Regions from separate parts of the Homo sapiens genome. Here all the other regions are linked to region 3. The links are contacts of gene promoters, found by promoter capture Hi-C in blood cells and fetal thymus (Javierre and others, 2016). All regions are on one chromosome and are shown on one strand. Each heading gives the region's core, a stretch centred on a gene start or on the middle of the fragment in contact. The rest is flanking DNA. Distances are from core to core; before and after follow the strand shown.

Region 1 (3,105 bases), core at 403-2,902, 1.8 Mb after region 3:
TAGGTGAGTGTTATTAAAAATAGCCAACTAATATATCAATATATGTAAATTTTGTCATTAACTCAGCTCTGTGGCCTCAGGTCCTTCAGAATAGGAGAAAAGAGAATGAGACGGGGAGAGAGAGAGAGAGAATAACAAAGCAAGGAAAGGAGAAAGAAAGGGAGGGAGGGAAGGAGGAAGAGAGAAATTATGAGGCCATGTTAGGATATTAGTGAGCTCTAGGAAGAATATTGTCAAGAAAAAGTGGATTGACTCTAAGCAATAAGTGGAACGAGGAAAATGTTGGAAATTATTGGAAGTCTTTTCTCAACAAGAAAAAAGATAAGACAATGAAAAATTTCAGGAACATAAAAACTGTAGAAGATCATACTACAATTATGAATTCATCTAAAATGGAGCATACCTGGGGCAACTGATAGAATGTAAGATATTTGAATCTATTTTCCTGATGTTAGAATAGTTCTCTGTTTTGAGAGGCACAAGATTTATGACATTGTCCCTTCAAAGATTGAAATGTAATTATAGTACATACTTCATTCTACTATGAAACATACTTGCATACTAATTCCCCAGTCATCTTCACTTTCTTACCATCAGAACTCCAACATTAATTATGGCCATGTTGTGCCAAATTTTAAAAAAACATTTCCCAGCCTCCCTTGCAACTAGGGGTAGCCACATGATATGGTTTCAACCAATAAGATATAAGTGGAAGTTGCTGGGTGGAATTTGATCTTTTACCTTCTTGAGTTACTATTCCATCTTCTTTTTTCCTGTCTTTCAGTAACAGACTCGAGCTCAAGATTAGACACTAGCCTAATCTTTGGTTCTCTGCCAAATACCTGTTCTTAATCTTTTAGTTTTCTGCCACTTTTCTGAGAATGCTTTCCCAAAGCTTGCTAGTAACATCTTAATAGGCAAGCCCTAATTACACTCTCTCAGTCTTGATCTTCTTAGAACTTGGTCCATCCTGTAATACTCTTAAAAGCTTCTCATTTTTCAGGCAGCATCTCAGCTCCTCAAGTACTTTGATTCTGTGCTGATCCTGTGTTAACCACAGAGATCCTCCTTGGTCCCTAGTGTCTTTTGTCACTCTGAAATTTAAACAGTCACTGTGGTTTGCTGTTAGATTTCTTTCTTTCTTCTTTTGTCAGTTGTCTCTGCTATGGGGATTGCATTTTTTTTTCAAGGCTGTGGCAATTACGTTGATGAAGATCATTTCCCAGCCTTTAGCTTTCCTCTAGTCTCTCCCCCACGTGCCAGGCCTGTATTTCCAGATGTGTGCTCCATAGAGCCACTACCTCTACTAAAAATGTCTAAACTGAGACATATCGTTTTTTAAATTCCCTAATCAGGTTCTCCTTGTGATGGAGATGTTTTGATCAACAAATTGTTTTAAACTCTCAGCAGCAGGGGTTTATCATGTGCCAGGGACAGTGCCAAGAGCTTTACATTTTTGATTCTCACAGCAGCTCTGTCAGGTGCATAGCATTGTTAGCCCCATTTTACAGATGAAGAAACTGAGACCTAAAGAAGTGAGGCCTGATTTTTCCAACATCACACAATTTTTACTGGCTGAGACTGGTCCCCTGATGCCTAAGTCAAATGGTCTCCCTTTCCATAATAACACTTCTGACATCCTCCTAGTTTAAAAATCTCGATTCTACATTGAATCAGTTGCCAGATTCTGTCAGTTCTCTCTCCCAGACTTCCCATTTCCCCTTCTTATTGCCTAACCAAAGAAAACCCACTGTCAGCTTGTTGTGTGCAGGGTCATTGTCTCTTGTGTTCCAAGCCTTTTTGCACCCTCCACAAGTACAGTTCCTCTCCCTTCAAGTCATGTGGACAGGAGAAAATCCAAGCATCCATGAAATGGCCCCAGCGTACTCTTTCACTCTTCGTTTTGGCTTTTTTCAACCTGTCTTGGGCTGTAGCCAAATGACCACTTGCTCTGGAGGGATTCCTCACTGACCCACCTGAGGATTTGTGCTTGTCCTTAGACTGTAACAACCTACCCAGCCTCCTAGGCGCCTAGCCAAAATTCTCTCTGGCTCAGAGCCCAGACCTCTCCAATGCCTTGCATGCCTTGATGGGACCTTGTTGCAGTTTTCCTTTGACTTTGTGCCCCAGGTTCAGTACCTGGGTTCTTGCCATGTTCTGGTGACTAATTCCCATCTTCTAACCCACTTCAGGAACTGGGGCACAGCTACTCTTGGCAGTTCTCTCAGAGCCTGAAATTCTCTGCCAGCACCACAGGTTAGCAGCTGAAACTGCTACCTTGTGCACCTGCCTGAGCAGCTGCATAAATGCCTGCTCCAAGCTTCACCATGACCCTGTTTGCCTGCCTTCCAGAACGGATCTTGACCTCCACATGTGGACAACTGCTAGGAATGTGGCCCCTGCTTCACGTGTGACCCTCCAGACCTGGAACCTTGTCCTCAATCATCCAAATCCAGGCCACTTTACAGTCTGTGTCCCAGGGGTTCCCAAAGTGTGGTCTGCAGGGTGTTACTAGGCACTGGGTGTGGGGTGATTAAATAAATGTAGGCGACATTTAGTTATATATAGGTAGTTTTCTTAAGATGTGACTTTGTAGAGCTTTTAACATGTTTTCATGTATTACAGTTCTCCAAGTTCAGAACTGTAATTAAGTGCTGTTCCCATGCTTATTTCAAAATGAGACCATGTTTTTCACTGAACAGCTCTAGGGATACTGGAAGCACTGGCCACAAGTAGAGTTGGCATATAAAATTTCCAGGTCCAATTCCTCTCTGGCGAGGCCTAGCCCATTAAGCAGCATCTACTGTGATAAGGAACTGTGGTAGGCGCCACACATAAGCACATATGCTTGGTCCCCAAAGAGCTCATAGTTCAATGGTAGAGGAATATGTTCATAGGTAAGTGGTAGTAGTTACTTGACTGAGAGTGGATAAAGGTCATTTTGGGACGGTAAGGAGTAAATAGTTCTGCAGGAGTATTTGGGGAGTTTTCACAAGAAAGGGATATTTAATTTAGATCTTGAAGGATGATCCAGAAATTCTGCTGTATGCAAAGCATGTGCAAGATCCAGAATCACACAGTGCTGGGTGTATCTGGGGAGTGCTT
Region 2 (2,822 bases), core at 172-2,671, 2.0 Mb after region 3:
AAAAGTCATTCAGGAGCAAGTTGTTTAATTTCCATTAACTTTCACTTCATACATTTTTCCTGCTGGGTCTCTTTTTACAAGAGGCATGCTTTGCTTTGTTAAATTAAAAAAATAAAGAAAATTGAAAGAGAGAAATAAACAGCAATTTTGAAAAGAAAGAAGAAAAGTTGAAATAAAGATGATTAGGGATGGGATATGGGGGGAGATGAGACAGCCTAGGGTCAGAGAAGACCGAGAGAACCTCTCCGGAGTCAGAGCCTACATGGATCTTCCAAGCTCTAGAACCCAGTTTGTAAATTGCATGTGCATAGTGCAAGGACGGTCTGAAGCACAACTTTGTCAAAACTATGGGATACAGAACCTCATGACCCCCATCACCACAGGGCCACAGGGTGTTTGTTCCCAAGAGCCAGGCAGCCCCAGCTGGCATCCATCCCTCCTCCTGGGCAGCATGGCTGAGGGCACATGGTAACTGGGAAAGTCCCCAGCCCAAAGGCCTATTTGAATTAGGACCAGCCAGTGGTGGCATCAGAGATGAACCCACCTCTACAATGGGCAAGTGTTATCATTCTTTGAATAACTGTTATTGAGTCTTTATTAAGAGAGGAGTAACTGGGCATTAGAATTCACATGTGTTGGAGAAAAAGTTTGTGTTTATCTGATGACATAGTCTGGGGCCAAAAAGCTTTATTAGCCACCATTTACAGCTCTTGCTGAGCATGCTCTCAGTGAAAATTCCAGGATTTCCCACTAAAAGTTTGGCTTCCTGAATACTCTCTTCATCCTAAAGTGGAGGAGCATGGCATTCTGAGGACAAGAAAAGGAGAAATGGTATATGATAAGTAAAGCACTGAGTTTTTAATCCAGAGGCTTCTAGTAGCTGCTTTGGGACGTCTTCCACAGGATACAGATGCCTTGTTCTAGAGCTAACCCAATCAGCTTTGTCATGGCCCCTGGGAGGTGCTGTCCAGAGTCCCTTCAATGACAAACTCTCTGCCCAGCTCCAGGGAGTGCTGGTGGCAGGTGGTTTCCAGCTGCCAGACCCTTGGGGACTGCCTCTGCTTCAGAGCCACCTTGTCCATGGATGCATCCCTCCCTGGGGTGGCCCACACCCAGTGATGGATCCAAGTGGTTATAGGAAGGCCTGTCCATCTCTGTCCACCTTAGAAACAACACTAACTAGCTAAGGAGCCCCCCTAGGGCCAGCTGAAGCCACTTCTGGGTCACCCCTCAGCCCAACTTCCCCTGAACAAATCCCACTTCTTGCTTCTCCTCCCATAGTGTTGATCCCTAGCAAGCACCCTGTGTGCCCAGCTTCATCTCAGCATCGGCTTCCAGGGCTGACCATGACAACCATCTGACCTAAAAATGCTCAAAGGCAGAACACTGAGGAAGCAAAAGGTTTAATTTATGTACTATGTATATCTGCAAAAACATATTCAACATACGAAGTATATTTACACAAATGTTAATGTATAAACATAAATATTCAAAGTATGTATTTACATCTACACACATATTTAATTATTTGAGTATTTTTAAAGTATTTAAAGTATTTACTAGGAGCTCTCTTATCTAATTCCTGTGAACCCTGTAGTGAGTAAGCATACAGCCAAAATTATTTAAAGTAGAAAATCATTATATATGAGCATATATATATATATATATATCTATTACATGCACATGTGTATATATGTGATGTGTATATGTGTGTGTCTATGTAGGCATGTGCAGGTATGTGCGTGGGCACACACATATGCACATCACATGTAAACATAGTTACATATGTGAACATACATAGGTATACGTGCGTGTCTATATGTATATGTGTGTATGCATGTATGTGTGTGTCTGTGTGTGTGTGTATAACATTTTATTTTAACTTGAAGCCTAAAGACATAGATGTACGTGCTGGTCATCTGATTTGGTGATTTCAGATCTATATTGACTTCCTGTTCAGAGCACACAGTTGTAATACATTGTCCATATTTATCAGTTTCAACAGATTTAAAGTGACATGAGAGCTTAAAGACTTTTGGACAGACTCTAAGCGTGGAATTCTTATGGAATTTTACTTCCCTCCATTTGTTAGAGTTTCTTCCCACACACTTAATTGGACATAATGTTTTTTCATGATTCACCTTGATTGAGTCTTTCCAAAGCTTTGAACTTCATTTTCATAGAAACAGTAACTCTTTCCCCACTCATATTGTCATGGGATTAGGTAATATTTAACTAAATCACATGACAACACTATCTGGGCGCACTAGGGCCGGGCACCAACGCCACCGACTCTAAGGCGGCGAGCATCTTGATGGATCAGGCATGGGGCTTGCTCCCTGGTGCTCCAGGACCTCAGCTGCAGCCCAAGGATTCCTTCGGGAAGGTGCAGGAAGCTGGAAGAGCCCTGCCAGCCCAGAGAGGCCATTGTGGGAGGGTCTTTAGGAGAGTTTCTCTTGAGTAAGTGTAAATGCAAAATGTTGAACGTCTAGCTACTGCGGTGTCATGTATGTTTTTAAGAGGTGCACACGCTCACTCCCGTCACTCAGCCCATATCACTAGGTTTCTCTGTGCTGGGCACTGAAAATACAGTCCCCCAGAATGCAAAGTCCTTGCCTCAGAGGGACTCACAGGTGCATGGCACCAATCTGTAAATAGCTATCCCAAGCAACGAGATAGGTGCTGTGAGAATGTGCAGGTGAGAGAGACCACCTAGGCAGGCAGGGCACAGTCCAAAGGGAGGTGACATTTATTTGAGGCAAGTCTTGCAGAATGAATTTGAGGCATATCTTGCAGAATGAGTAGGAATTATCTAGGTGAAT
Region 3 (2,849 bases), core at 56-2,555:
ACCTGCGTGGTCTGCCAAGTCAGGGGAGTGGCCTGCCAGCCTTGCTGCGTGGCCTGCCATCCTGGCGAGGTCGCCTGCCAGCCCGGGGGTGTGGCTAGCTGCGCTGGGGGTGCCTGCGGGCCCTGGGGAACCTGCGGAGGAGCCCTTATAACTTGAGACTGGATTTGCAGGATCAGAGGCTGAGCCTGCGGGGCCCAAGAAGCCATCGGCTGTGCAGGTGGGGCCATCGGCTGTGCAGGTGGGGCCGCCGGCTGTGCCATCGGTGCTCCTGAAGCTGGAGGCTGGGTCATCGGAGCTCTCGCACCTGGAGGATGAATCATCAGGACTCCTGGACCTGGAGGCTTGGCCATCGGTGCTCCTGAAGGCTGAGGCTGGGTCATCATGGCTGCTGGAGGCGGCTGGACCATCGGTGCTCCCGGAGCAGCAGGCTGGACCATCAGGACTCCCGGAGTCAGAGGCTGGGCCATCAGGACTCCCGGAGCTGGAGGCTGGGCCATCGGTGTACCCGGAGGGGGAGGATGAGCCATCGGTGTCCCCGGAGGTGGAGGATGAGCCATCGGTGTCCCCGGAGGGGGAGGATGAGCCATCGGTGTCCCCGGAGGGGGAGGATGAGCCATCGGGGTCCCCGGAGGAGGAGGATGCACCATCGGGGTCCCCGGAGGAGGAGGATGGGCCATCGGGGTCCCCGGAGGAGGAGGATGGGCCATTGGGGTCCCCGGAGGGGGAGGGTGGGACATTGGGGTCCCCGGAGGAGGAGGATGGGCCATGGGAGCTCCGGGAGCTGAAGGATGCACCATCAGGACTCCCGGGGTCGGAGGCTGGGCCATCGGGGCTCCCGGAGGTGGAGGATGCACCATCAGGACCCCGGGAGTCGGAGGCTTACCCATCGGGCCCCCCAGCGGGGGAGCCGGGACTATCGGGCCCCCTAGGGCAGGAGGCTGGGTCATCGGAACCACCGGGGCGGGCAGCTGGCCCTGTGGGGCCTCCCAGGCAGGCTGAGGTGCCTGCCAAGCGGCCAATGAAGCCTGCAAGTCAATTGGAGGTGGATCCCAAGGGACTGGCGGAGCCCGGGAGGAAGCGGGCGGGGCCCGCATCAGAACCGTAGGGCGGCTATAGACAGGCGGCTTCGGGGCCTCCGCCGGAGGACTCGAGTCACCCAGATTCTTACTTAGCTGCGACATGTCCCTTTGCTGACAGCTGGTGGGTCTTTTCCTCGGACAGCTGCTGGGCCTTTTCCTCCAGAGAGAAGAGAATGCCTACGTGGCTGTTCAGAGGCTCCCTCCCTGCTGAATGCTGAATAGGAAGTGAGTGCTGCTCGCTCCGCAGCTTTCCGCAGTAAGGAGGAGGGGGGAAGGGGGCTCAATCCCGCCCCTTCCCCGCCCCCGACCACCACAAGTGGATATTGCATAGGGGCGTCTACCGGAGTCCTGGCTGACACAGGATCCCTTCTCACTCTGTCCAGTCCCCAAATGCAGACCAGTCAGACTCCACATGGATGACTTTTCACAGGGGAGTGACAGGAACCCATCCATGTTTTAGAAAAATCACTGTACTGCAGTGTGGAGTGGGAGCAGACCACTGGAAACATGGAAGGTATCCAAGACGGCGGGGGGAGATGGTGTGGTCTGGGCTAAGATGTGAGGCGGAGAATGAAAAAAGCGCATTTACATAAGAGAGTTCCAGGAGTTATAGCAGACAGATACCTGTATTATAATTGAATAAAGGAGTCAAAGACATGGAAAAGGCACACAAGTCCCTGCCTGGAGAAAGTGGGAAGTTGCAGGGACTGTTACTCTCTTAGGGTCCCAGGAGAGGCACACGGGAAGAGAGGCTGATGAGTATTGGCAGACACAGGGCATTTGCGGTGCTGTGGGACTGCCAAGGAGAGATACCCTGTAGGCACTCCTGTATGATGTCTTGGGAGTCCTGCTTGGCTATTCCTCATGAAAATAGAGTTGTGGGAGGGAATGTGGTTGCACTGGGTCTTGAAGAACACAGGCATGTTAGAGACACATGGAGAAAAGGGACAGCAGCGAGTAGAGAGAGAGGAAAAGAAGTCACGGAACTGAGACATGCCACACATCAGTGGAAGACAGCATTTTTAGTATGGGAAAACTGCCTGTGGAATGGCTCGGATGCAGGAACAGAGTAGGTTTCTCAGTATTTTTCATCTGCAGAATGGGAAAGAAATTTAAAAAATGAAAACCAAATAACGCACCTGAAGATAACAAAATGGGTATATAAATAGATCAAAAATTGATATATTTGGATATATAGGAAAAACAGGCAAAGAATAAAAAAATTTCTGGGGAAACTTCTCGTGACAAAAATCAGTTTAAATATGAGACAAATCAAGTATTAACAGATAAAGCAGATGACAATAGTATTATTGGGCAATGCTATACAACTTTATGGTGAGAGGAAGTGATAATCTCAGTAATTGAAAAGCTTTCTGGAAATATACAAAGCACTAAATATCAAGGATGTTTCGTTTAAATAGGCTGTTGGCAGCCTACGGCAGGAGTCCAGAGTGACAAAACGTGCCACCAGGGGGCAGATGAGGACGATGAAGGGTACACCCCACTCCTTCCCAGGTACCCTTAGCCAGGGGTCCTCAAATTTGGTAATTTATGGACCCAAGAGAAGGTATGTACACACTCCCAATGTTATTATTGCCTTAAACAATAATAGAAGAATTTGGGGGTAAAGTTTCAGTGATTTTCTGGACACTTAAGGGATGTTGTTATTCCCAGGAAACTCTTTTCAAAACAGTCAGATTTTTAAGGGTGCTTGATGATACAGTAGCCCCCCCCACCTTACCTGCAGGGGATACATTCCAAAACTCTCGA
Region 4 (2,825 bases), core at 231-2,730, 1.9 Mb after region 3:
CTGGAGCCCACGCAGGCCCACAGCTGGCCATGAGTGAGAAACTAACTTTTGCGAGTTGATGCTGAGGTCATGGTTTGAGATCACCCCATCTTCTTGCTCATCCTGACTGGTAGAGTCTTCAGGGTGGGTTTCATCCAATGACTCAACAATGACCCCGTGGACTGGCTCTTTCTGTCCCTCTGCCCTCTGAACCACGGCAAAATGGCTTCTGTAGTTCCAGAGACTTAAAGTCTGGAGCTACACTACCCAGAAGGTGCCTACAGCCCCGCTTCCATCACACTGGCCAAAATCAGGCTATAGGCCCATTTCCGAAGCAAGTTTTTCATCCAGGGAATGCCATAGACTTGGGTAAAGGGCCAGCCACTGGGGTAAGATCAGGCTGTGGGATCGCATAAATCCTATTAGATGAATCAAAGCCAGCTCCTGTAGGGGGGCATGAGGCTATTGTACCCTGAGGCACATAGAATAGGGGAGGGGTTAGGGAGAAGAGAATGAGGTGTGGGTCGGAGATTAGGAGGCAGGGAAGCAAAGTCATGTGCAGGGTGAACATGAGCCTGTCAAGATCCACCCCAAGGCCTTCCTAACTTTCCTGCAGCATGGCACACATTTCATTTTTCTCAAGATCAATGGGGCAGTGAACTTCTGAGTTCACAGTGAAGAATGAACCTGTAAAAAACAAAATAAGCCAGGCACAGGAAGACAAATACAGCATGATCTCACTTATATATATGTAATCTGAAAATGTTGAACTCGTAGATATGGTGAATAAAATCGTGGCTAGCAGGGGCTGGGGCATGGGGGAAGGGGAATGGGTAGAGGTTGTTTAAAGGGTACAAAGTTTCAGTTACATAGGAAGAATAAGCTTCTGAGATCTATTGCACAGCATGGTGAATATAGTTAATGTATTGTATATTTCAAAACCGCTAAAAGTAAATACCAAATGCCTCACCACAGAAAATGATAAGTGATGTGGTGGACAGGTTAATTAGCTTGATTTAATCATGCCACTCCAAACTTCACATTATACTTCACAAATATATACAATTATTATTTGTCAATTATGCAATTTAGATTTTTTAAAAAAGAAATTGTAAAAACAAGTTTTACAAAAGGCTCTTCTAAGTCCATTAAGAAAATGAAGGCCAAGTATGGTGGCTTAATGCCTATAATCCCAACACTTTGGGAGGCCAGTGTGGGAGGATTGCTTGAAGCCAAGAGGTTGAGGCCAGCCTGAACAACAAAGTGAGTCCCCATCTCTACAGAAAATAAAAAAAAATTAGCCAGGTGTGGTGGCATGCACCTGTAGTCCCTGCTACTTGGAAGGCTGAGGTGGGAGGCTGAGGTGGGAAGATGGCTTGAGTTCAGGAGTTTGAAGCTGCAGTGAGCTAATATCGTGCTACTGCACTCCAAGCTGGGAGACAGAGCAAGACCTCAGAAAAACAAGATCATGAAAACATTCTCTCTTATCTCCTTCCAGAATTGTTTTAGCTTTCACATTTAGGTATATGACCCAACTTAAACTAATTTTCATTTTTAGGGTAAGATATGGGTAAGGTGTTTTCTTTTTTCCATACAGGTATCCAGTTGCTCTGTTTATTATCCAGACCATCTGTTTCCATCTGAATAGCAGCAGCACCTTCGTGGTAAACCACATGTGGGTCTATTTCTGGATCCTCTGTTCTATTCCACTGTTCTCTTTGTCCATCCTTCCTCTAATACCAGTCTATCTGAACTACTGTAGCTTCAAAAGAATTCTTGAAATCCTTGAACTTTGCTCTTCTTCATTAAGTATTCTGTTTCTTTCAGGTCCTTTGTCTTTTCATATATATTTTAAAATCAGCTTCTCAATTTCATCTCTTTAAAAAAACTGTTTAGCTATATCTGAATTCATCAAAAGATACGGGAGGAATTGACATCTAAACAATACGAACTTTTCAACCTCTAAACATGGAACATCTTTTCATTTATTTTGGTCTTCTTTCATTTCTTTCAGTAAGGTTTTCTAGCATATTAATCAGAATTCTCCAGAGAAACAGAAACAACAGGATGTGTATATACAGTGAGATTTATTTTTAAGGAATTGGCCTACAAGACTGTGGAAGCTTGTAAGTCCAAAATCTGCAGGGTAGATTGGCAGGCTAGAGACGCGGGGGAGAATGTCAGTCCAAGTTGCAAAGGCAGTCAGCTGGCAGAGTTCCTTCTTGCTCAGGAGAGGCCAGTCATTGTTCTATTGAGCGCCTTCAGCCGACAGGATGAGGCCCACTCACATTATGGGGGGTAATCTGCTTTACTCCCAGTCTATCAGTTTTGGTTAATCTCAACAAAAACCACCTTCACAGAAACATCCAGAATAATGCTTGACCAAATAACTGGACACTGTGACCCAGCCAAGTTGACTATAAAATTAGCCAGTGCAAGTCCACCCCTTGTCATCTGGGCAGCTATACACATCTCCTTAAACCATACTTAATTTCCAAACAAAGATGATAACAAGGCCATCTTTCACCTATCATAATTGTCCTGCATACAACCAAAAATGCACTAACTCCCTCCCCAAAAGAGTATGCAACGTCCTCAGGTGATGCTTATGCCTCTCGATAGCCTGCAACTTAAATACTATGATGTAAAGTTAACAATACAGTCATGTACCATATAATGACCTTATGGTCAAGAACAAAACTTATATACAACAATGGTCCCATAAGATTATAATACTGTATTTTTACTCTACCTTTTCTATATTTAGATATGTTTAGATATACACATACTGACAAGTGTGTTACAACTGCCTACGGCATTCAGCATAGTAACATGCTATACAGGTT
Region 5 (2,730 bases), core at 144-2,643, 1.9 Mb after region 3:
TGTGTTCCTTCTTGGGGCCCTAGGGAATAAGCTTTTCCAGCTTCCACACTCCACACACATTCCTTGGGTCATGGCCCCATCTCTGTCTTTAGAGCCAGCGATGGTCAGTCAAGTCTTTCTCACAAGGCATCACTCTGACATGACTTCAGTTGTCACATCTCTGGTTCTGACTCTCCTGCCTCCCTATTTCTCTTCTAAGGATTCTTGAGATTACACTAGGCCCTTGGGATAGTCCAGGATAATCTCTCCATTTCACAGTTTTCAACCTTAATCACATCTGCAAAGTCCCTTTTGCCATATAAGGTGCTGGCCTGAAAGGAAGAAGCTGATGCAAAATTACGTGGAAAGTCCACTTGGGGCCAAGCTTGAGGGCCTGGATTCAAGTAGCCCTGAATATACACTCAGAACAGCCACAGTTACTAGTGGATTTTTTAATGCAAAAAAGTGGGGCAGGAAGTGGGCTGATACAAAGTTGTTTGTTAGGAATTCTCATTGGTTTACAGGAATAACATTGATTAGTGATTGGCTATCCATTGTTAAGCTTTAGGATGTGTGTTATAGTGTCTGGTGTGGCATTATTGGGTTAATTTATGGCTACTTGTGGCAATAGCAAGCAGTTTCATGAGATGAACATGGGGGGAAGCTCATGGGGGGAAGCAAGACACAATTGCTGCCTCATTTTAAGGTCTCTCTGAGCCTGATAATTAAAAGGACTTGCATTACTCAGATAAAAGCTCTTTCCTCAAAAGTAACATGTTCATAGATTTTGGGGATTGGTGTGTGGACATCTTTTAGGGAAGGCATTAGACTGTCTGCTACCGTGACACTATCCTGACTTATCGCACTATGATTTATGTTATGTTGCCTGAAATTATACAACATGCACTTTTTTTGTATCTCACTTTTTTCTCGATACTGTGTGAGAGTCAGCATATTGTTTCATGTATCTCTAGCTGATGTATTCCTAATTGTCTAATGTTTTACTGTATGAATACACCACAATTTATGTATACACTCTAAGTGGATGGGCATTTGGATTGTTCCCAGTTTGGGGCTCTTACATAAGATGCTGCTCTGTGTCTGCTTGGGCCTGTGTCTTGGCGTTCCTAGAAGTGGCATTGCTGGGTAAGAGAATATACCACAATTGATGTGAGCACACATCCTAGTTTGCTTGGAACAATCCCAATTTATGCCTGTTGTCCTATCTGGTAAAAGCCTACATTCACTCTCAAAATATGGTCACCCTAGGCATAGTGATACTTATTTCCAACTCCAGTAATGTAGCCAGACAGTTTCCAAAGTGAGAGTAACTGGCCAGGTGCAGTGGCTCACACCTGTAATCCCAGCATTTTGGGAGGCCGAGGCGGGCAGATCACTTGAGGTCAGGAGTTTGAGACTAGCTGACCAACATGGTGAAACATTAGCTGGGCATGGTGGTGCATGCCTGTAATCCCAGCACTTTGGCAGGCTGGAGTGGCAGATCATTTGAGGTCAAGAGTTTGAGACCAGTCTGGCCAACATGGTGAAACTCCGTCTCTGCTAAAAATACAAAAATAGCCGGGCATGTTGGTGATGCGCACCTGTAATCCCAGCTACTTGGGAGGCTGAGGCAGGAGAATCGCTTGAACCCAGGAGACAGAGGTTGCAGTGAGCTAAGATCACGCCACTGCACTCCAGCCTAGATGACAGAGTGAGACTCCATCGCCCCCAAAACACAAAAAACAAAGTGGCAGTAACTTGTGCTCCAGCAACAGTGCGCTCCACATCCTCACCAAACACTTGTGATTGGCCGTCTTTCTCGTTGTAGTTTAATTTGCATTTCCCAATTACTACTAACAAGATTGAGAAACTTTTCATAAATTTATTGCCCATTTAGGACAGTACATTTTTTGAGAAATCTCTGGATCACTTGCTCATTTTTCAATAGAGTCGTCTATCTTTTCTTATGGATTCGTTAGGGATGCTTTTGATATTCTAGATCTGAGTATTTTGTTGATTACATGAATTGCAAATATCTTCTCTCTCTCTGTGGCTTGCCTTCTCACTCTCTTAATGGTGCCTTTTAAGGAATGGACATTCTTAATTTGAATGTGATTTGAATGATTTATCTTTTTATTTATGATTAGCCCTTTTTGTGTCCTATTTAAGAAATCTTTCTCTACACTCAAGACTGTGAAAATATTTTCCTTTATTACCTCCTTGAAAATATGTTGTTTTGCCTTTTATATTTAGGTCTACAATCTACCTAAGCTTGATTTTTTTATGTGAGAAGGTCAACTTTAATTCTGTTTTCAAAAGGGTAAATAATACAATTGACCCAACACTATTTATATAAAATAATATCGTTTTCTTCCCCATTGTTTGATGTACCACCTTTTCAAAAATCAAGGGTTAATATATGCACTGGCCTGTTTCTAGGCTATCTGTTCCATTTGTCATGAGTCTATTTGTTTATCCTTGGGAACAATATCATGCCATCAACTGAACTATTACAGTTTTATAATAAATCATGATAGGTGGAAGAGGAAACTCTCCCCTCATTATTCTTCTTAAAGCGTATCTTAAGTATTCTTAGTTCTTTGCATTTCCACTTAAATTTCAGAATTGTATTAATAATGTCCTTTAAAAAACTCATTGGGATTTTTATTGAGATTGCATAGATCAGTTGTTACCCACCTTCTTGGTCTCCCAATGCAATAGAAATTGACATGAGATCAGAGAGTTTTCCCA
Region 6 (2,906 bases), core at 94-2,593, 1.8 Mb after region 3:
AATGGAATCAGCTTATCTTGAACCAGACCGTAATACAGCCTCTGGGTGTGAACAAGGCCACAAGCAAGGAAACTGAATACATCCTAGAGGAAGGAAATTGAGTTTCTGCTGAGGACGTTTAGGTAACATCACAGCACTTGTGTTATTGCTGGATGATGTTTCTTAGATTAAGCTGGCCTTGACACTTTCTCCAATGCTTTTAATACGATTTATTACTGAGGAAAAGATCTGGTCATTTAATAAAGATGCAGAAATACTTTCTGTCAAATTGTAAGGAAGCAATCCGTGTATTTTTGCAATATTGAATTGGTGAAAGTGAAATCACTTTAAAATGAAATTAGAGTGACTCATACACCCCCTGAATCATGGAAATACAGAGACCTGTGGCCAGTTAAACCCCTGAAACAAATTATCCATCCATGGCTGTCCCTAAGCACCCTTTTCTATTAAGGAGACACCTATAGCATCCAGCCTATTGTCTTTTTTATCTTTCTAGCTTTATTTTCTGCTTCCTGTCACCTACTTTTTATACTTGACATTTCAGTGTCCCTAAATCTAGCAATAGAATAGTTTTTTCCTCTGTACATATTGGTCCTTTTCTGCTGTTCTGATCAAGGCATACTGTAGACTTTTTATTTTAAGAATTGTATTATTCTCCAGATAGTTTTCAAGTCTATTGTATAGCTAGACAGAGGGATATGGGGCTAGATTATGTTACAATGCCATAAACCCTCTGTTCTTTCCCACTTTCAGCAGTTTTTCTGGAACAAACTCTCCTCAGATTACTGTAAACCTTTGGTTAATTTCAAGATCTCTTAAATAACTGATTTTTTGACAATTTTGGCTACTGTGTTTATTGCTCTGATGGAAAGGTAGATTCATAGGGATTGTCAACCTACTATTCTGGTGGTAAAATTTTAATAAGTTAAATTATAAGGGAATGTACCCACAAAGATAGTGCATTTTATTTAATAAAAAATTGTTGAGCAGCTAGTATTTACTGGGCAGTGGCCTAGCCACTGAAGATTCAAGTGTGGGAAAGAAACACTTTTGCTCACATTTAGCATTTGCTAACAGAAAGTTTACCATTTTCAAAGGAAATAGACTCGCAGATAGGAAGAAGTAAGCTGAGGAAGGAAATAAGTCTTCCTCTTCAGGACTAAAAAAGGGACAGTTGGCCAGAGAATGGAGTAAAGAGGCTGACACATCCACTTCCATTTACATTTTGGCCAAGCCAGAGAATAAAAACCGTAAGGTCATTGTGAGAGTCCTTCCACATTAAACTTTGCCCCAAATTTTCCATTTTTCACTTTATTTCTCTTAATTTCCATCTGGAGAATAATAAAAGAATCAAATGGCAACTGTAGAGCTAAAACTATCTTAAGTTTTAGCTTAAGATAAGATGAGGCCAGGTGCAGTGGCTCATGCCTGTAATCCCAGAACTTTGGGAGGCCAAATCAGGTGGATTACCTGAGGTTAGGAGTTCAAGACCAGCCTGGCCAACATGGAGAAATCCCATCTCTACTAAAAATACAAAAAATTAGCCAGGCGTGGTGGCAGGTGTCTATAATCCCACCTACTTGGGAGGCTGAGGCAGAAGAATTGCTTGAAGCTGGGAGGCAGAGGTTGCTGTGAGCCAAGATCACACCATTGCACTCCAGCCTGGATGACAGAGCAAGACTCTGTCTCAAAATTAATTAATTAATTAATCAAAACATAAATAAAACTATCATAATGAAATGTAAAATTTCTTAGAGGGTTTCAACAGAAGATTTAATCTTACAGAAGAAAGAATCAATGAGTTTGAAAATAGGTCAATTCAGATTATGCAGCCTGGGAAACAGAAATATATAAAAGAATGAAGAAAAATTAACAGTCATAAATACCTATGGGACACCATCAAGCACACCAACCTACCCATAAAGGCAGTCCAAGAATGAGAGAAATGAGAAAAAGGAGGAGAAGGAATACTTGAGGAAAACAATGACCAAAACATCCCAATTTTGATGGAAGCATTTATGTTCATATCCAAGAATATCAAATTAGATAAACTGAAAGAAATCTACACTTACACATATAATAGGCAAAACTGTTAAAAGACAAATAAGGAATACTGAAGACAGAGAAAAATGACTCATTACATGCAAGTGATCTATAATAAGATTAATAGCTAGCTTTCCATAAAAAAATCATAGAGATGAGAATGCAATGAAATGACATATTCAAAGTGCCAAAAGAAAAAGAATGTCAATCAAGAATTCTATATCCAGCAAAACTATCTTTTATATATAAAGGATAAATTAAAGCTGCTGTAGATTTTAAAAAACTGAGGCCAGGTGTGGTGGCTCATGCCTGTAATCCCAGCACTTTGGGAGGCTGAGGCAGGAGGATCACTTGAGGTCAGGAGTTTGAGACCAGCCTGGCAGACATGGTGAAACCCCATCTCTACTAAAAATTAGCTGGGTGTGGTGGCAGGTACCTGTAGTCCCAGCTACGTGGGAGGCTGAGGCAGGAGAATCATTTGAACCTGCAAGGCAGAAGTTGCAGTGACCTGAGATCACACCACTGCACTCCCACCTGGGCAACAGAGCAAGACTCTGTCTCAAAAAAACCCCAAAAACAAAACTGAGAAAGTTCAGTGGTAGATGACCTGCTCCCCAAGAAACACTGAAGGAAGTATTGCAGGCTGAAATTAAGTGATATTTATTAGTAACTTGAATCCGCATGAGTTTGTAACACTTTACTTTCTGATTTAAAAGACAACTCCACATAGCAATAATTATAAAACTTTGTTGATGAGCTTTTAATGTATATAGTTTCCATGATGCACAATGAAAGGAGAATGGAGCTATATTTAAATGAAGCTTTTGAATACCATTACAATTAAGTTAGTTTAATCTGAAAGA
Region 7 (2,729 bases), core at 131-2,630, 2.0 Mb after region 3:
TTAGGAAATTGAGGTTAATTTTTAAAATTGTGATTATGCTACTGTGGTCACAGAGGAGACTGTTCTTTTTCCTAGAAAACGCATGCTGAAGCAGTGAAGTGTCGTAACAACTGCAACTCACTTTCTAATGATTCAAAAAACACATGGATAGTTGGCCAGGGGCAGTGGCTCATGCCTGTAATCCCAGCACTTTGGGAGGCCAAAGTGGGCAGATCTCTTGAGGTCAGGAGTTCAAGGCCAGCCTGGCCAACATGGTGAAACCCCACCTCTACTAAAAATACAAAAATTAGCTGGGTGTGGTGGCACACACCTGTAATCCCAGCTACTCAGGAGGCCGAGGCAGGAGAATCACTTGAACTTGGGAGGTAGAGGTTGCAGTAAGCTGAGATCGTGCCACTGCACTCCAGCCTGGGTGACTGAGTAAGACTTCATCTCAAAACAAAACAAAACAAAAAACACACAGATAGATTAGACAGATACAGAAGTAAATACGACAAAATGTGGAATATTGAATACTACTGTGGGTATGTGAATGTTCACTGCAGTAATTTTTCAGCTCTTCTTTATGTTTCAATTTTTTATACTAAAATATTGGGCAGAAAATTAACATTCAAGTTACTTTTGGGTAGTCAGTCTAAGCTACAAACTTCTTGCTAGGTAGACAAGTCCAGGTTTGTTCTCTGGCCTCTTGAAGAATTTTTTTGCTGATATACAAAGGAACGCCAGGAAAAGAAATTTAACTTGAGCAAGAGAAGGGAGGCTCATAAGAGAGTTCCAACACTTAGAACTGAACCTCAGCATGGAAAAGACAATTTGGAGCGTGGAAATGTGGGGTGCTACTCACCTTACTCAACTTGTCCTTTGAGACTGGGTGGAAGGAGACTCTGAGTCATGTCATTAAAATCTACAGAAGACTCAGCACCCACCATTGCCAGAAACAAGGGAGGAAGGCCCACATGGTGACTCACATCTGTAATCCCTGTAATCCCAGCACTTTGGGAGGCAGAAGCAGGTGGACAGCTTGAGGCCAGGAGTTCAAGACCAGCCTGGGCAACATAGTGAGATCCCTATCTCTACAAATACTGTTTTTTTAAAAAAAATAGTCAGGTGTGGTGATATGCAATTGTAGTCCCAGTTACTTGAGATACTGAGGTGGAAAGACAGCTTGAGCCCAGGAGATCAAGGCTGCAGTGAGCTATGACTGTGCCACTGCATTCCAGCCTGGGCAACAGAGTGAGACCCTGTCTGTGAAAAAAAAAAAAAAAAAAAAAAAAAAAGCTTTGGCTGGTTGCAGTGGCTCATGCCTTGCCTATAATCCCAGTGCTTTGGGAGGCCAAGCAAGGCAGGAATGCTGGAGTTCGAGACCAGACTGGTCTACATGGCAAGACCTTAGTGTAGAGGTTAGGCTACGTCTCTGCAATCCTGCACAGGACCTACAGTAACACAGTCTTGTGACTGCTGTTGGGGTCCTTTTATATAAGTTAAGCTTTTGTGTTAATTTTACTTCAATTTATCACAAACTTCTACCCTGAAAAAAATATATCTGGGCAAGTGCCACTTGTCAATAAGAATGGATAAAAAAAGTTTTTAAATTAAAGCGTGATCTTGATTCTTTAAGAAACCTGTTGCACCTTCAAGCAATCTGGTGTGCATTCTTTCTGCCCTGCTCCCTTTCCTACTCCTACTTGTCTGACCTAGCCATCCTTTCAAGGTTCCCACCCTATTTCTGCTCTCTCCAGCTTTCTATCCTGGCCTATAATCTCATCTCCTGCACCCCTCCTCCCCAATCTATTCAGCCCACCACATTCAAAGCAATCTTTCTCATGTGTAATACCAACCATGTGTCCTCTCTCCCCCCTCCCCATTTTTTTTTAGCTTTATTGAGGTATAATTGGCATAAAAGAAACTGCACATAATTAGGTGACTGACTTCTTTCACTTAGCATAATGTCTTCCAGGTTTATTCATGTTGTCACAGACTGTAGGCTTTCCTTCTTTTTTTTAAGGCTGGATAATATTCTATTACATGGATATACCAATTTTTCTTTATCTGTTAATTTTTCAACGGACATTTGAGTTGTTTCCATATGTTGGCTATTGTGAATAAACCTGCAGTGAACATGGGAGTGCAGCTATCCCTTCAAGATCCTGACTTCAATTGTTATGGATGTATACCCAGAGGTGAGATTTCTGGATCATATGGTAGTTTAATTGTTAATTTTTTGAAAAATTTTCATACTGTTTTTCATGATGGCTATACCATTTTACATTACTATCAGCAGTATACAAACCTCACTAATATTTATAAATATTTTTATAGTAGCCATCCTAATAGGTGCAAGATAATATCTGATTGTGGTTTTGATGTGCATTTCCCTGCCGATGGGTAAAGCTGAGTATCTTTTTGTATACCTGTTGTCCATCATTTGTAGGTGTTCTTTGGAGAGATGTCTATTCCAATCCTTTGTTCATTTTTTAACCAGGTTTTTTGTTTGCTTCTGTTTTGTTTTTGTTTTTGCTATTGAGTTTAGAATCTCTTTATGTATTTTGGAAATTAACCCGTTATCAGATATATGGTTTGCAAATATTTTCTTCCATCCTATAAGTTGGCTTTTTACGCTGTTGATAGTTTCCTTTGCTGTCCCACTTAAGCTTTTCCCTCATGTTTTCTTCTAGAAGTTGTATGGTTTCAGCTATTACATTCAAATCATTAATCTATTTTGAGTTAAT

What was found. Contacts are between HindIII fragments. The CHiCAGO score rates a contact against its expected background, and 5 or more counts as called.
Region 1: a contact is called between a fragment that was not itself captured here and the fragment with the promoter of MAGEL2 in region 3, in 4 of 17 cell types (M0 macrophages, M1 macrophages, naive B cells and 1 more). The highest score is 8.4, in M0 macrophages.
Region 2: a fragment that was not itself captured here is called in contact with the fragment with the promoter of MAGEL2 in region 3 in 4 of 17 cell types (M2 macrophages, total CD8 T cells, M1 macrophages and 1 more); the score reaches 7.2 in M2 macrophages.
Region 4: a fragment that was not itself captured here is called in contact with the fragment with the promoter of MAGEL2 in region 3 in 2 of 17 cell types (total CD4 T cells and M2 macrophages); the score reaches 7.1 in total CD4 T cells.
Region 5: a fragment that was not itself captured here is called in contact with the fragment with the promoter of MAGEL2 in region 3 in 9 of 17 cell types (M2 macrophages, non-activated CD4 T cells, M1 macrophages and 6 more); the score reaches 11.6 in M2 macrophages.
Region 6: a contact is called between a fragment that was not itself captured here and the fragment with the promoter of MAGEL2 in region 3, in 16 of 17 cell types (M0 macrophages, naive B cells, non-activated CD4 T cells and 13 more). The highest score is 38.9, in M0 macrophages.
Region 7: a fragment that was not itself captured here is called in contact with the fragment with the promoter of MAGEL2 in region 3 in 6 of 17 cell types (total B cells, M0 macrophages, non-activated CD4 T cells and 3 more); the score reaches 10.7 in total B cells.

What each region holds. Positions count from the first base shown.
Region 1 is chr15:25,463,907-25,467,011 of GRCh38, forward strand. The region is part of intron 4 of LINC02250 (long intergenic non-protein coding RNA 2250); the gene reads right to left. Among named protein-coding and RNA genes, the nearest start is that of UBE3A, 26 kb to the left of the region's middle. The HindIII fragment of the contact is 1,332 bases long and covers 987-2,318 here.
Region 2 is chr15:25,629,882-25,632,703 of GRCh38, forward strand. No RefSeq gene overlaps it. Among named protein-coding and RNA genes, the nearest start is that of LINC02250, 52 kb to the left of the region's middle. The HindIII fragment of the contact is 1,477 bases long and covers 684-2,160 here.
Region 3 is chr15:23,646,562-23,649,410 of GRCh38, forward strand. MAGEL2 (MAGE family member L2) reads right to left here and starts at 1,306. Exons shown (of 1, transcript NM_019066.5): 1 at 1-1,306. The coding sequence starts at 1,181. RefSeq lists an enhancer at 1-593. The HindIII fragment of the contact is 5,160 bases long and covers 1-2,446 here.
Region 4 is chr15:25,570,226-25,573,050 of GRCh38, forward strand. All of the region lies in intron 1 of LINC02250 (long intergenic non-protein coding RNA 2250), which reads right to left. Among named protein-coding and RNA genes, the nearest start is that of LINC02250, 7.2 kb to the right of the region's middle. The HindIII fragment of the contact is 1,240 bases long and covers 861-2,100 here.
Region 5 is chr15:25,537,699-25,540,428 of GRCh38, forward strand. The region is part of intron 1 of LINC02250 (long intergenic non-protein coding RNA 2250); the gene reads right to left. Among named protein-coding and RNA genes, the nearest start is that of LINC02250, 40 kb to the right of the region's middle. The HindIII fragment of the contact is 1,709 bases long and covers 540-2,248 here.
Region 6 is chr15:25,487,310-25,490,215 of GRCh38, forward strand. All of the region lies in intron 4 of LINC02250 (long intergenic non-protein coding RNA 2250), which reads right to left. Among named protein-coding and RNA genes, the nearest start is that of UBE3A, 50 kb to the left of the region's middle. The HindIII fragment of the contact is 3,038 bases long and covers 1-2,862 here.
Region 7 is chr15:25,600,006-25,602,734 of GRCh38, forward strand. No RefSeq gene overlaps it. Among named protein-coding and RNA genes, the nearest start is that of LINC02250, 23 kb to the left of the region's middle. The HindIII fragment of the contact is 208 bases long and covers 1,277-1,484 here.